Regions from separate parts of the Homo sapiens genome. Here region 2 is linked to region 1. The links are contacts of gene promoters, found by promoter capture Hi-C in blood cells and fetal thymus (Javierre and others, 2016). All regions are on one chromosome and are shown on one strand. Each heading gives the region's core, a stretch centred on a gene start or on the middle of the fragment in contact. The rest is flanking DNA. Distances are from core to core; before and after follow the strand shown. Region 1 holds the start of IGFLR1 (IGF like family receptor 1). Region 2 holds the start of OVOL3 (ovo like zinc finger 3).

Region 1 (4,885 bases), core at 1,295-3,794:
GGACCTTTCTGCAGGCTCCTCCCACCGGTCTTCGTGCCGTTTTCCCGGGAACTTGGTCGCGCCCCCATGCGTACAGGCTACACACGGCGGCTGTTCATCTTTGCCAGTCCCTTCCATCCCGCTGTTCATCCTTGCCAGTCCCCTCCATCCCTTTTCTGGTTTCTTAGGGGCAAAGGATCGCCGATGCACTCATGATGCTTAGGCTGGGGTGTAAGGTTCCACCCCCAACCTTCATGCCTCACTCTCTGTTCATGCAGCCCTGCCCTCTGAGCTCAGGCCCCGCCCCTTTTAAATTCTGTGCAGACCATAGTGCTGCTCAACCTGTACCGGAATCCACAGAACACAGCCCAAACTGCAGACGGATCACACTGTGAGTAAGGGACCAGGCCTGGGGGCAAGGTGAACAGCCCCCAGTAGGCTACACTCTGATTCCACCCTGCCCGCCCCCACCCCAGGTCATGTGAGTGACGTGGAGGTGCAGGAGCACTATGATAGCTTCTTCGAGGTGAGGGTTGGTAGGGGCAGATGGGGTTTCTTGTGGGAGCTCAGCTGAGTTCCTCCCCGTCTTCCACAGGAGGTGTTCACAGAACTGCAGGAGAAGTATGGGGAGATTGAAGAGATGAATGTGTGCGACAACCTTGGGGACCACCTCGTGGGCAACGTCTATGTCAAGGTGCTTGCTGCCCCCCACTTAGGGCCCAGAAGTGGAGGCGTTTCAATGCCTGATGGTGGCCACTGTAGGCTCTCAGCTTGAATTTCATCACTAAATCCAGTCCAGCCCCAGAGCGGGTAGTGAGTCCCCTGAAGATCTCTGAGTTCTCCTGCTGACCCTGACTGACATTTCCTGCAGTTCCGGAGGGAGGAGGATGGAGAGCGGGCCGTGGCTGAACTCAGTAACCGCTGGTTCAACGGGCAGGCTGTGCACGGTGAGCTGTCTCCTGTCACTGACTTCCGGGAGTCATGCTGTCGCCAGTATGAGATGGGGTATGGTAGTTCAAGGGTGGGATGGGCACTTGGAATCCCAGACTTTGAATGCGTGGTAGGGGCTGTCAGTGACAATGGCTTCCTCCATCTCTCTACCCTCTATGCAGGGAATGTACCCGAGGTGGCTTCTGCAACTTCATGCATCTGCGGCCCATTTCCCAGAACCTCCAGAGGCAGCTCTATGGGCGGGGACCCAGGCGCAGGTACCTCAGGACCAGCCTGCTATGTCTCCTCATGTCCTAAGGCCCCTATATCCTCAGATGAGCCTAACCCTAAGCCCCAGTAACCACGTTCCCAAGAATCTTTTTTTTTTTTTTTTTTTTTTGAGATGGAGCCTCACTCTGTTGCCCAGGCTGGAGTGCATTGGCACCATCTTGGTTCATGGCAACTTCCGCCTCCCGGGTTCAAGCAATTCTCTGCCTCAGCCTCCCAAATAGCTGGGATTACAGGCACCTGCCACCATGCCCGGCTAATTTTTGTGTTTTTAGTAGAGATGGGGTTTCACCATCTTGGCCAGGCTGGTCTGAACTCCTAACCTCGTGATCCACCTGCCTCACCCTCCCAAAGTGCTGGGATTACAGGCGTGAGCCACCACTCCCGGCTGACTGTTTTTTTTTTTTTTTTTTTTTTTTTTTTTTGAGACGGAGTTTTGCTCTTCTTCCGCAGGCTGGAGTGCAAAGGCGCAGTCTTGGCTCAGTGCAACCTCTGCCTCCCAGGTTCAAGCAATTCTCCTTTCTCAGCCTCCCAAGTAGCTGGGATTATAGGCACCTGCCACCATGCCTGGCTAATTTTTGTATTTTTAGTAGAGATGGGGTTTCACCACGTTGGCCAGCCTGGTCTCGAACTCCGGACCTCAGGTAATCCACCCATCTCGGCCTCCCAAAGTGTGGGGATTACAGGCGTGAACCACTGCGCCCGGTCATTCCCAAGACTCTTATACCCTAAGAGTAGTTCTGAGCTCCATCTGGAGACCAGTACCTAAGTCCCAATCCCCAAACCAGCCTGAACCCCTAATCCACGACCAGCCTGGATTGCCACCCCTGATACTGGCCACTGAGTTCCCCTGATACTGGCCACTGAGGTCGTGTCTTAGAACTCTAGTTATTTCAGCACCCTCCTGCCTCATCCCAGAGCAGAGAGGCAGGCCTGCAGGATCTCTGCACCACTCCTCAGGGTTCTAACAGAACTCTCAACGCTCCTATTCCCAGGTCACCCCCGAGGTTCCATACTGGCCACCATCCCCGAGAGAGGAACCATCGGTGTTCCCCTGATCACTGGCATGGCCGCTTCTGAGGCCCTGGCCCCCTTACCCTTCACCCCCAACAGGGACAGATGTTCCTGGCAGGACCTCTCCTCAAAGCCCCCTTCACTCTCCTGCCCCATCCTTCCCAGGCTCCCGGGCTCCATAATGTAATCTGTTCAGCATGGAGACCTTCTTCTACCGCCCCTGTCTTAATAAAGCTGCGTGTTTCACTTCGGCATCAACTTGCTTTTGCTGTGGTTTGGCATTTCCCTCCACCCACACATGTGACGAAAAGGGGAAACAAGACTGGGTCCTGGCCACAACTTCAGCTGAGGAACTTGGCACGGCCAGCTTGGGACCCAGGACCCTAACGGTACTGGTAGGGTGGGGACACCTTTGTGCTGAAAACCTTAGCACCTCCATCTGAGGCTTATTCAAGGGGGAGAGACCTGGTTGTGGCAGGTGGGAGGAGCCCTAGCCCCAAGGAGATTAGGATTCAAAGGTGAGGTGAGGTGCTGGGAGGTGGTCTCCAGCCAGTATGGGGCTGACTCCTCCGTGCCTGCCGAATTGTGATGGGAGTTAGTAATGCCTTACACTTAAACACTGAGTTTACTGTATGTGAGGTGCTGTTTTCAGCACTTTAGTTTGTTTTTGTTTTTTTTAAGGAGTTTCATTCCTGTTGCCCAGGCTGGAGTGCAATGGCACGATCTCAGCTCACTGCAGCCTCCACTTCCCAGGTTCAAGCAATTCTGCCTCAGCCTCCCAAGTAGCTGGGATTTACAGGCATGCGCTACCACGCCCGGCTAATTTTGTATTTTTAATAGAGACAGGGTTTCACCATGTAGGCCAGGCTGGTTTTGAACTACTGACCTCAGGTGATCCACCCACCTGGGCCTCCCAAAGTGTTGGGATTACAGGCATGAGCCACTGCGCCCGGCGGCCAGTTTTTTTTGTTTTTAGAGATGAGGTCTTGCTGTGTTGCCCAGGCTGGTCTGTAATTCATGGCTCAAGCAATCCTCCTACCTTGGCCTCCCTAGTAGCAGGGACTACAGACGTGAGCCACTGCACTTGGCAAAGTGCTTTGCTGTTTTTTTTTTTTTTTTTTTTTTTTGTAAAGATGGGGTTTCATTTTGTTGTCCAGGCTGATCTCTCGAACTCCTGGGCTCAAGTGATCCTCCTGTCTTGGCCTCCCAAAGTGTTGGGATTACAGGCATGAGCCACCACACCCAGCCCCTGCTTTACTTCTAATGACGGTTCTAATTCTCCACAATAACCCTATGAGACAGGTGCTATCATTGTCTTATTTTAGGGATGGAAAAGGGAGGGTGGGTGGGTGAGGACACGGCAGAGGTGGGATATGCATTCTTGCAATCTAGATCCGCAGCCCTGTTAGTCCCCTAGTGGCCTTGTGGGCTTCTCTGATAACCGGCTCAGTTGGGGGATGAGGGCTCGGGGGTAGATTCCCGGCTTCCGAAGAGGCGTGAGAATTCTGTTCCCCCACATCACCGCGTCCTTTCTTCTGCCCGATTTCCCCGGAAAGTGTAGCAGAGGCGCTGTGTTTGGAAGTCCCGCTATCACGGCCCCCCAGATGGGGCCTGGACGATGCCTCCTGACGGCCTTGTTGCTTCTGGCCCTGGCGCCACCGCCGGAAGCCTCCCAGTACTGCGGCCGCCTTGAATACTGGAACCCAGACAACAAGTGCTGCAGCAGCTGCCTGCAACGCTTCGGGCCGCCCCCCTGCCCGGGTGAGAATCCGAGACCGAGCCTTGCTTGGGCGGAGCTTGCAGGTGATAGGGAGCGGGGAAGGGGCGAGGTCTGTGGGCTACGGGCCAGAGAGGCTTGCTTAGGGGTCTAAGCGGTGGGCCTTATGCAGATCAGACAGGGATGGCAGGCAGAGCCTGTGCAGATAGTGCGGGCTACCGTAGGGCAACAGCGAATGGATATGGCTGGAGAGGCGGGATAGGGGCCGCGTGGAAAGGGTGGGCTTTATGTAGAGAAGCCGGGAGTGGGCGGAGCTTCGTGCGGAGCAGGCTGGAGGGGGGTGAAAAGGCGAGCCCGGAGAAAAGTGACAAGACCGGGGCGCACGCTAATAGGCTGGAAGCGTCCTGGAGGGGCGGGGCACGCTGGGATAGGGCGAAGGGAGAGGGCGTTGCCCGCGCAGGGGCGGGCTAGGCGGCCGCACTGGAGCGCAGCTTTCCCGCTAGACTATGAGTTCCGGGAAAACTGCGGACTCAATGACCACGGCGATTTCGTAACGCCCCCGTTCCGAAAGTGTTCTTCTGGGCAGTGCAACCCCGACGGCGCGGAGCTATGTAGCCCCTGCGGCGGCGGAGCCGTGACCCCTACTCCCGCCGCGGGCGGGGGCAGAACCCCGTGGCGCTGCAGAGAGGTGCAGATGGGACTCCCGGCAGGGCAAGGGCGTGCTGGAGGTGGGGGGCCTAGATGTAGGGAGCCGGCGTAGCCCCACGTAAGGGGTGGGGCCGTGGTTTCAGGAGGTGGCTGGCCTGCAGGGGTCGGGAGGTCCTAGGTTAAGGTAGTTGGGCCTTGCGGGGCCCAACTACCTTATCAGATACCGTATCAGATGGGATGTGGCCCCATTAAAGGATATAAAGTTGGGAGGTTTGGGAGCGGGCAGGAGTGGAGTGTGGCCTCCAGCTT
Region 2 (6,500 bases), core at 680-3,179, 370 kb before region 1:
CCCCACATACACAAACCATGGACACTCCACAGCCCAGCACCTCTCTCCATTTCCTTCCATCCCCACCTGGGGCCCAGCAACTTTTCCCTGTCCCTGCCACTGCTCACCAGTGTGAGTCCTCATGTGGCGCTTGAGATCGAAGGCGTCATGAAAGCCCTTGCCACAACAGCGGCACAGGTGGCGGCGCACGGGGCTGTGGCACTTGAGGTGCCTTGTCAGCATGCGCTGCAGAGGGAAGGCCTTAGGGCAGAGCGGGCAGCCCAGCGTCCCAGGGCCCCTGGGAGCAGAGGTCAGGTTGCCCTGTGTGGGCTGCTGGAGGGATGCAGGAGTTATTAGCCTCTCTGGCTGGACCCCATCCACCCTTTGTTACTCTGCAAATGAGTATTTACAGAGTGTCCTGAGCCACCACGGAGGATTAGGAAGGCAGGTGGGAGACAGTGATTAGTGTGTGTGCCTGTCACTCTCCAGGGCCTTCCCTCACTATCCCATGGTCCTTACTTTCTCTATGCCAAGTCCCATCTTCTGATGTGACATACACATTTTTTTTTTTTAAAGACAGAGTCTTGCTCTGTCGCCCAGGCAGGAGTGAAGTGGTATGATGTCAGGTCACTGCAACCTCCGCCTCCCGGGTTCAAGCGATTCTAGTGCCTCAGCCTCCCCACGATTACACGATTGTAGGCATGCGCCACATGCCCAGTTAATTTTTTTATTTTTTGTAGAGATGGGGTTTCACCATGTTGGCCAGGCTGGTCTTGAATTCCTGACCTCAAGCAATCCACCCACCTTGGCCTCACAAAGTGCTGGGATTACAGGCATGAGCCACTATGCCCGGTCTATTTTTCTAATTTTATTGTTTTTTTTGAGGGGGGATGGAGTCTAGATCTGTTTCCCAGGCTGGAGTGCAGTGGCGCAGACTCGGCTCACTGCATCCTCTGCCCTGCCTCCTAGGTTCAACTGATTCTCCTGCCTCAGCCTCCTGAGGAGCTGGGATTACAGGCACGTGCCACCATGTCTGGCTAATGTTTGTAATTTTAGTAGAGACAAGGTTTCAACATGTTGGCCAGCCTGGTCTCGAACTCATGACCTCAAGTGATTCACCCGCCTCGGCCTCCCAAAGTGCTGGAATTACAGGCTGACTAATTTTATTGTCTATACATGCAGCCCCAACCAGAATATAAGCTCCATAAAATTGTGGATTTTTGTCTTATTCCCGCTGAATATAACAGCCCATGCCTAGAACAGTGCCTTGCTTTCATGAATATATTACATTCCGGCTGGCGCTTTCCTTCCTCCAATGCATGCACAGCTGAAAAAGCCCTTATCTCCCATCGCACTCCTGTTGCCTTGTCCCATGTTCTGACATAAAGCGGATCATCCACATGTGGGGATGAATCTTGTGCCCCGCTGGAAGAGATCCCTGTGGCTGCCGGCCCTGGTGCCTGGGGTGAGACCTAACAGTAGAGAGCTCACTACTAGGAAAGGAGAGGCATTCCCAACACAGAGAAGTAGGGGCGGACAGGTCCCGAGGCTGGAGGGCGTGTGCAGATGGGTCGGGGGAGCAAGGGGCTGTCAGCTTCATTAAGGCTGAGAGCAGGCAGGAGCGAAACAGCTGGCTTTGCTAGCCAGTTACACACTCACCGCTGTCCACGGATCCCTGACACTGGACGACTGTTGTGCCGGTGGCCCCCCCAGGCTGCTGCAGTCTGAGGAGAAAAGCCAGATGGTGACACTGCGTCTCTCCTGCCCCTTACCTCCAGGCACAGTGAGGGGCCCACCTGGGATATAGGCATCTCCCCGGAGCTGGTCAGGCAGATGGCCCCAGTTGGGGGGCTGTGGACGCCGACTCCTGACCAGGAAGGCGCGGGGCATGCCCTCCGGAAGGCTCTCCACACACAGGGGCTGCTTCCACCTGCTGTCAGACCTCAGCCCCAGGATGACTATCCCTGGTGGGAAAGGAGGGGAAGCCTCTGAGGAACCTCATTCTCTTCATGCAAATTTCCTGGCTGGCCCTGGGAGTGGACTAAGCTGGCTCAGGTTACCCCTGCCTGGGGACCTGCCCATCTTCTCCCAGGTTTTGGAGGGAACCATCCAGCCTCCAGGGGTGGACAAGCACTAGGACCACCAAGCAGAGCCAGGCAAGGGGAGATGGGCCTGGGGAGCTTTTGAGGATAGGAAGAAGAAACAAGGCCCCAGGGGGACTGTCTCCCAGGGGTTGAGGGTCTGTTTGCCAGGCAAATCAGTCACCAGGGGACATCCAGCAGCCTGCCTGGTTATTCAAATCACAGCAGCTGTCTGAGGACACTGAAGGGGCCCCCTGCTGTGATTGCCCTGCTCTGTAGGGTGCAGGGAGGACAGCAGATCTGGATAAATCAGGGCAAAATGAGGATCCAGGCTGTGCATCCTCAGGTAGGATGCCCCACCTCTCTGATCTTCAGATTCCCAGGGCTAACATTCAGCCAGAAGCACTGTTCAGGTGTAGCAGGCACTAAAATACTAGTTTGTTAATAATCTAGCCCCTAGTTACTGCCTGGGACAACACTCTTCCTCCCTCCCACAGTCTGGAAAGTAAAAGGGGGTCTCCTATTTTTTTTTCTTTTTTTGAGACGGAGTTTCACTCTTGTTGCCCAGGCTGGAGTGCAGTGGCACCATCTTGGCTCACTGGAACCTCCACCTCCCGGGTTCAAACGATTCTCCTGCCTCAGCCTCCTGAGTAGCTGGGACTACAGGCATGCACCACCACACCGGGCTAATTTTTGTATTTTTGGTAGAGACAGAGTTTCACCATGTTGGCCAGGCTAGTCTTGAACTCCTGACGTCAAGTGATCCGCCTGCCTTGGCCTCCCAAAGTGCTGGGATTACAGGCATGAGCCACCGCACCTGGCCCAAAGGGGGTCTCTTGACACAGCCAGGGGCTCCCAGGACCCTACCCCGGCACACTGGCCAAGCTGTTTTACACTTGATTCTTAGCCAGAAGACTAAGAAGCAATCCAAGCTCTGTTTTTTAATTTTTTTTTTTTGAGGCGGAGTTTTGCTCGTTGCCCAGGCTGGAGTGCAATGGCGTGATCTTGGCTCCTCTATGACCTCCGCCTCCTGGGTTCAAGTGAGTCTCCTGCCTCAGCCTTCCAAGTAGCTGGGATTACAGGGGCACACCACTGCACCCAGCTGATTTTTTGTGTTTTTTGTAGAGATGGGGTTTCACCATGTTGGCCAGGCTGGTCTCAAACTCCTAAATGCAGGTGATCCGCCCGGCTCAGCCTCCCAAAGTGCTGGGATTACAGGCGTGAGCCACCGCGCCCAACCTGTTTTTATTTTTTTTGTTTTGTTTTGTTTTGTTTTTTGAGACAGATTCTCACTCTGTTGCCCAGGCTGGAGTGCAGTGGTACGATCTCCACACACTGCAGCCTCCGTCTCCTGGGTTCAAGCGATTCTGCTGCCTCAGTCCCCCAAGTAGCTGGGACTACAGGTGCGCACCACCACACCCGGCTAATTTTTGTATTTTTAGTAGAGATAGGGTTTCACCATGTTGGGCAGGCTGGTCTCAAACTCCTGACCTCGAGTGATCCACCTGCCTCAACCTCCCAAAGTGCTGGGATTACAGGCGTGAGCCATTGCGCCTGGCAACTAAACAATTTTCTAAGCTCCAGACCTAGCTTACTGAAAATGATCGCGTAAGTCCATGAAGGAGGCACACCAGTGACAGCCCAGAATGACCAAGACAGTGAGAGGCAAGTGAGGCAGAGACCCAGCCATGATGGGGAAAAGAGGGGTACCTGGGGACCCGAACAGGCTCCTGATCCAGGCTACGGGTACAGGGATGGCTTCCTGGATAAGCGCTGAAAGGTTTCAGATGAAAGGGGAGGGTGTTCTAGTCAGAGGGGGACATCTGTACAAGGCTTGCTGGTGAGAGGAGTATTTCTTCATTTCTTTACATTGCCCGAGAGTCAGTTGTGCCAATTCATTTGGGGAAGCAAGGGTGGCAGTGCTGAGGGTCTGCTGGCCATGCATTTCCGCTTGCTCTCTGCAGGACCCAGAGCAAGTCATTTCTCATTGGGCCTCGGTTTCTTCACCTGGAAAATGAGACTAAGGAATCTCCCTCTTCCCAGTTTGTATTGAAGATCCATGTAGCTCACATGGAGAGAATGCTTAGCATGGGGCCTGGCATGTGGCAGACATATAAGCAGGGATTGGTTAGGAAGGTTTTTTTTTTTTTTTTTTTTTGAGACAGGGCCTTGCTTTGTCACCTAGGCTGGAGTGCAGTGGAGTGAACACAGCTCACTGTAGCCTCAAGCTCCTGGGCTCAAGTGATCCTCCCACATCAACCTCCCAAGTAGCTGGGACTACAGGCGTGCACCACCACACCTAGCTAATTTTAAAATTTTTTGTAGAGGTGGAGTCTTGCTATGTTGCCTAGGGCTGGTTTTGAACTCCTGAGCTCAAACCGTCTGCCTGCCTTGGCCTCCCAAAGTGTTGGGATTACAGGAATGAGCCACTGCATCCTGCCGAGGAATCCCTCCTCTGGGCAAACATCCAGGCCTCAGGTGGGTCATCTGCAAAATGGGGTTTCAGGTGGTGTCTCCATTTTGCAATTGTTGGCTTTCCTGCAGCCCTGACTGGGATGCCTGGCACGGGCCTGGCAGCTCAGGACCCAGGAGCTGTCCTGATGGTACTGCTATGGGGAGGCCAAGGGTAGATGTGGGGGTAGAAGCAGGGGGGGAGTTGCAGTGAAAGATGAACTGTTTTCCTTCCAGGGACCCAGTTCCCCAGGAACCCTCTCAGTCCTGTTCTGCCCTGCTCCATGGCCTAGGAGGTTGACTGGAGGCGGGGTCACCTGGGCTTCTATGCACTCTGGCTTCCAGTAGGATTTGGACAATGGGGTGCCCTGCAGGAGGGGAGTAAGGTCAGGGTGTTGATTCTCACTCCGTCCTGTGTGGGAGTCAGGGCTGCAGCTCCCTCAGCACTACCCTCTCCCTGGGATTTGCTCTTTTGGGTTCTTGTTCCTTCTCTTTGTGCCTTGTGGCCTGGGGGTGGTAACAGCTCCCAGGGTGCCAGTCCTGGGGTTCTGCACCAGCCTCGGTGGTTTCCCAGTCCCTGCTGCTCCTTTGCAAATGATCCCTTGGTTAAACTCTTTGGAATATCCCATCTAAGCATGCTGTCATCTTTCTGCTGGGACCCTGTCAGCTCACAAACCACATGCACACATGCTGCACCACCAGCAGTGGCTTCTTAACCAGGTGGTTTATCCTGGTTAAGAAGTATGGAGAAAGTATGGTCCTTCCAGGACAGAGCCTGGCATTTGGAAGAGGGAAGTGGCAGACATGCTGGATCCTCTCTGATTACCAGCCCACTTGCCTTTCTTATTGAGAGAACCTCTTTGTTTGAGCTGCAACATGCCCAGGACAGGAGAGATGGTCCAAGCACATCAAAGCAATCTCCATTCCTGTTGCCTGGGACTCATCTGACCCCAGATGAGTCTCCCAGGGAGACCCCTGGGAGAGATCTGCATCTTTTCTGCTGCCCTAGAGGGTGCCCTGCTCTGTGCCTTTGCTCCTGGTTGGACCAGGCCACCCAGCAGCTGGGACCAATAACTTGGGCCTCTGACCCTCATGTCATTGTGCACCTGGCCTCTTCCTCTCCTGCTGTCACCCTCTGTGAGCCCCCTGCACTCCACATCTAACCTCAGCCTCCCCATAGCAGTACTATCGGGGCAGCTTCTAGCTCCTGCGCTTCCAGGCTTATGCCAGGCACTTCAGTCAGGGCTGCAGGAAAGCCAACAATTGCAAAATGGAGACACCACCTGAGGGTGTGCTGCTGGGTGCCACAGCAGCCGTGTTGCAACCATGAGGCCATAAGCTGGAGACTGAAGCTTGCTCACAGAGGATAACAGAGCAGGAGAGGAAGAGGCCAGGTGCATGATGACATCAAGGGTAACCAACGTCCCTCCATCTTGGGCCCTGAAAGCCAGGTGTTTACTCCTTGGAGCAGAAGACTTTACTATGATACAGGTTGGAAGGAAGGGTAATTCCATGCATGACAGAGGCCCAAGGTGGTCTCCTGGGTGTCCGAGGCCTGGGGGGCTGAACACCAAGCTTTGCCCAGGGATGTTGGGCAAGGTTTTGGGCAATGGTGGCCGAACTAGGCAGATGGGCCTAGGCCTAGGCAGGTGGTTCAAGTTCTGGACCACCTGGACTCCCTGAGGCAGAGTCGTGAGAAATAAGCAACACTGGATATCCCCCAAACATTAAGAGCAGAGATTTAGAAACAAACCCAAAAACAAAAAACTGTTCTGGATATTCCTTGGACTTAAATGTTATGAAGCAACAAGGCCCTGCTCCTCCTTGCACCTCAGCTCCTGCCCTCCCCTTGCTCACTCCATTCCAGCCGTCCGGGCTTCGCTCCTCTTGCTTCCACACAGATCACGTGTGGCTGCCCCAGGCCTGTGCACTGGCTGTGCTGTCGGCCTGGATGTGTTCCTGAGATGTCCTCTATCAAGCTTCAGCCCA

The links. Contacts are between HindIII fragments. The CHiCAGO score rates a contact against its expected background, and 5 or more counts as called.
Region 2: a contact is called between the fragment with the promoter of OVOL3 here and the fragment with the promoter of IGFLR1 in region 1, in 1 of 17 cell types (neutrophils). The highest score is 5.3, in neutrophils.

What each region holds. Positions count from the first base shown.
Region 1 is chr19:35,740,111-35,744,995 of GRCh38, reverse strand. IGFLR1 (IGF like family receptor 1) reads left to right here and starts at 2,544. Exons shown (of 5, transcript NM_024660.4): 1 at 2,544-2,600; 2 at 3,773-3,972; 3 at 4,432-4,616. The coding sequence starts at 3,816. U2AF1L4 (U2 small nuclear RNA auxiliary factor 1 like 4) reads left to right here. Exons shown (of 6, transcript NM_001040425.3): 3 at 575-673; 4 at 851-984; 5 at 1,092-1,187; 6 at 2,193-2,469. The coding sequence ends at 2,277. RefSeq lists silencers at 866-1,026, 4,329-4,458 and enhancers at 2,362-2,791, 4,139-4,248, 4,596-4,885. The HindIII fragment of the contact is 10,043 bases long and covers 1-4,885 here.
Region 2 is chr19:36,106,572-36,113,071 of GRCh38, reverse strand. It overlaps OVOL3 (ovo like zinc finger 3), which reads right to left and starts at 1,929. Exons shown (of 4, transcript NM_001302757.2): 1 at 1,776-1,929; 2 at 1,639-1,703; 3 at 108-312. The coding sequence starts at 1,869. It also overlaps a transcript of WDR62 not described here. RefSeq lists enhancers at 1,070-1,699, 1,700-2,330. The HindIII fragment of the contact is 18,213 bases long and covers 1-5,865 here.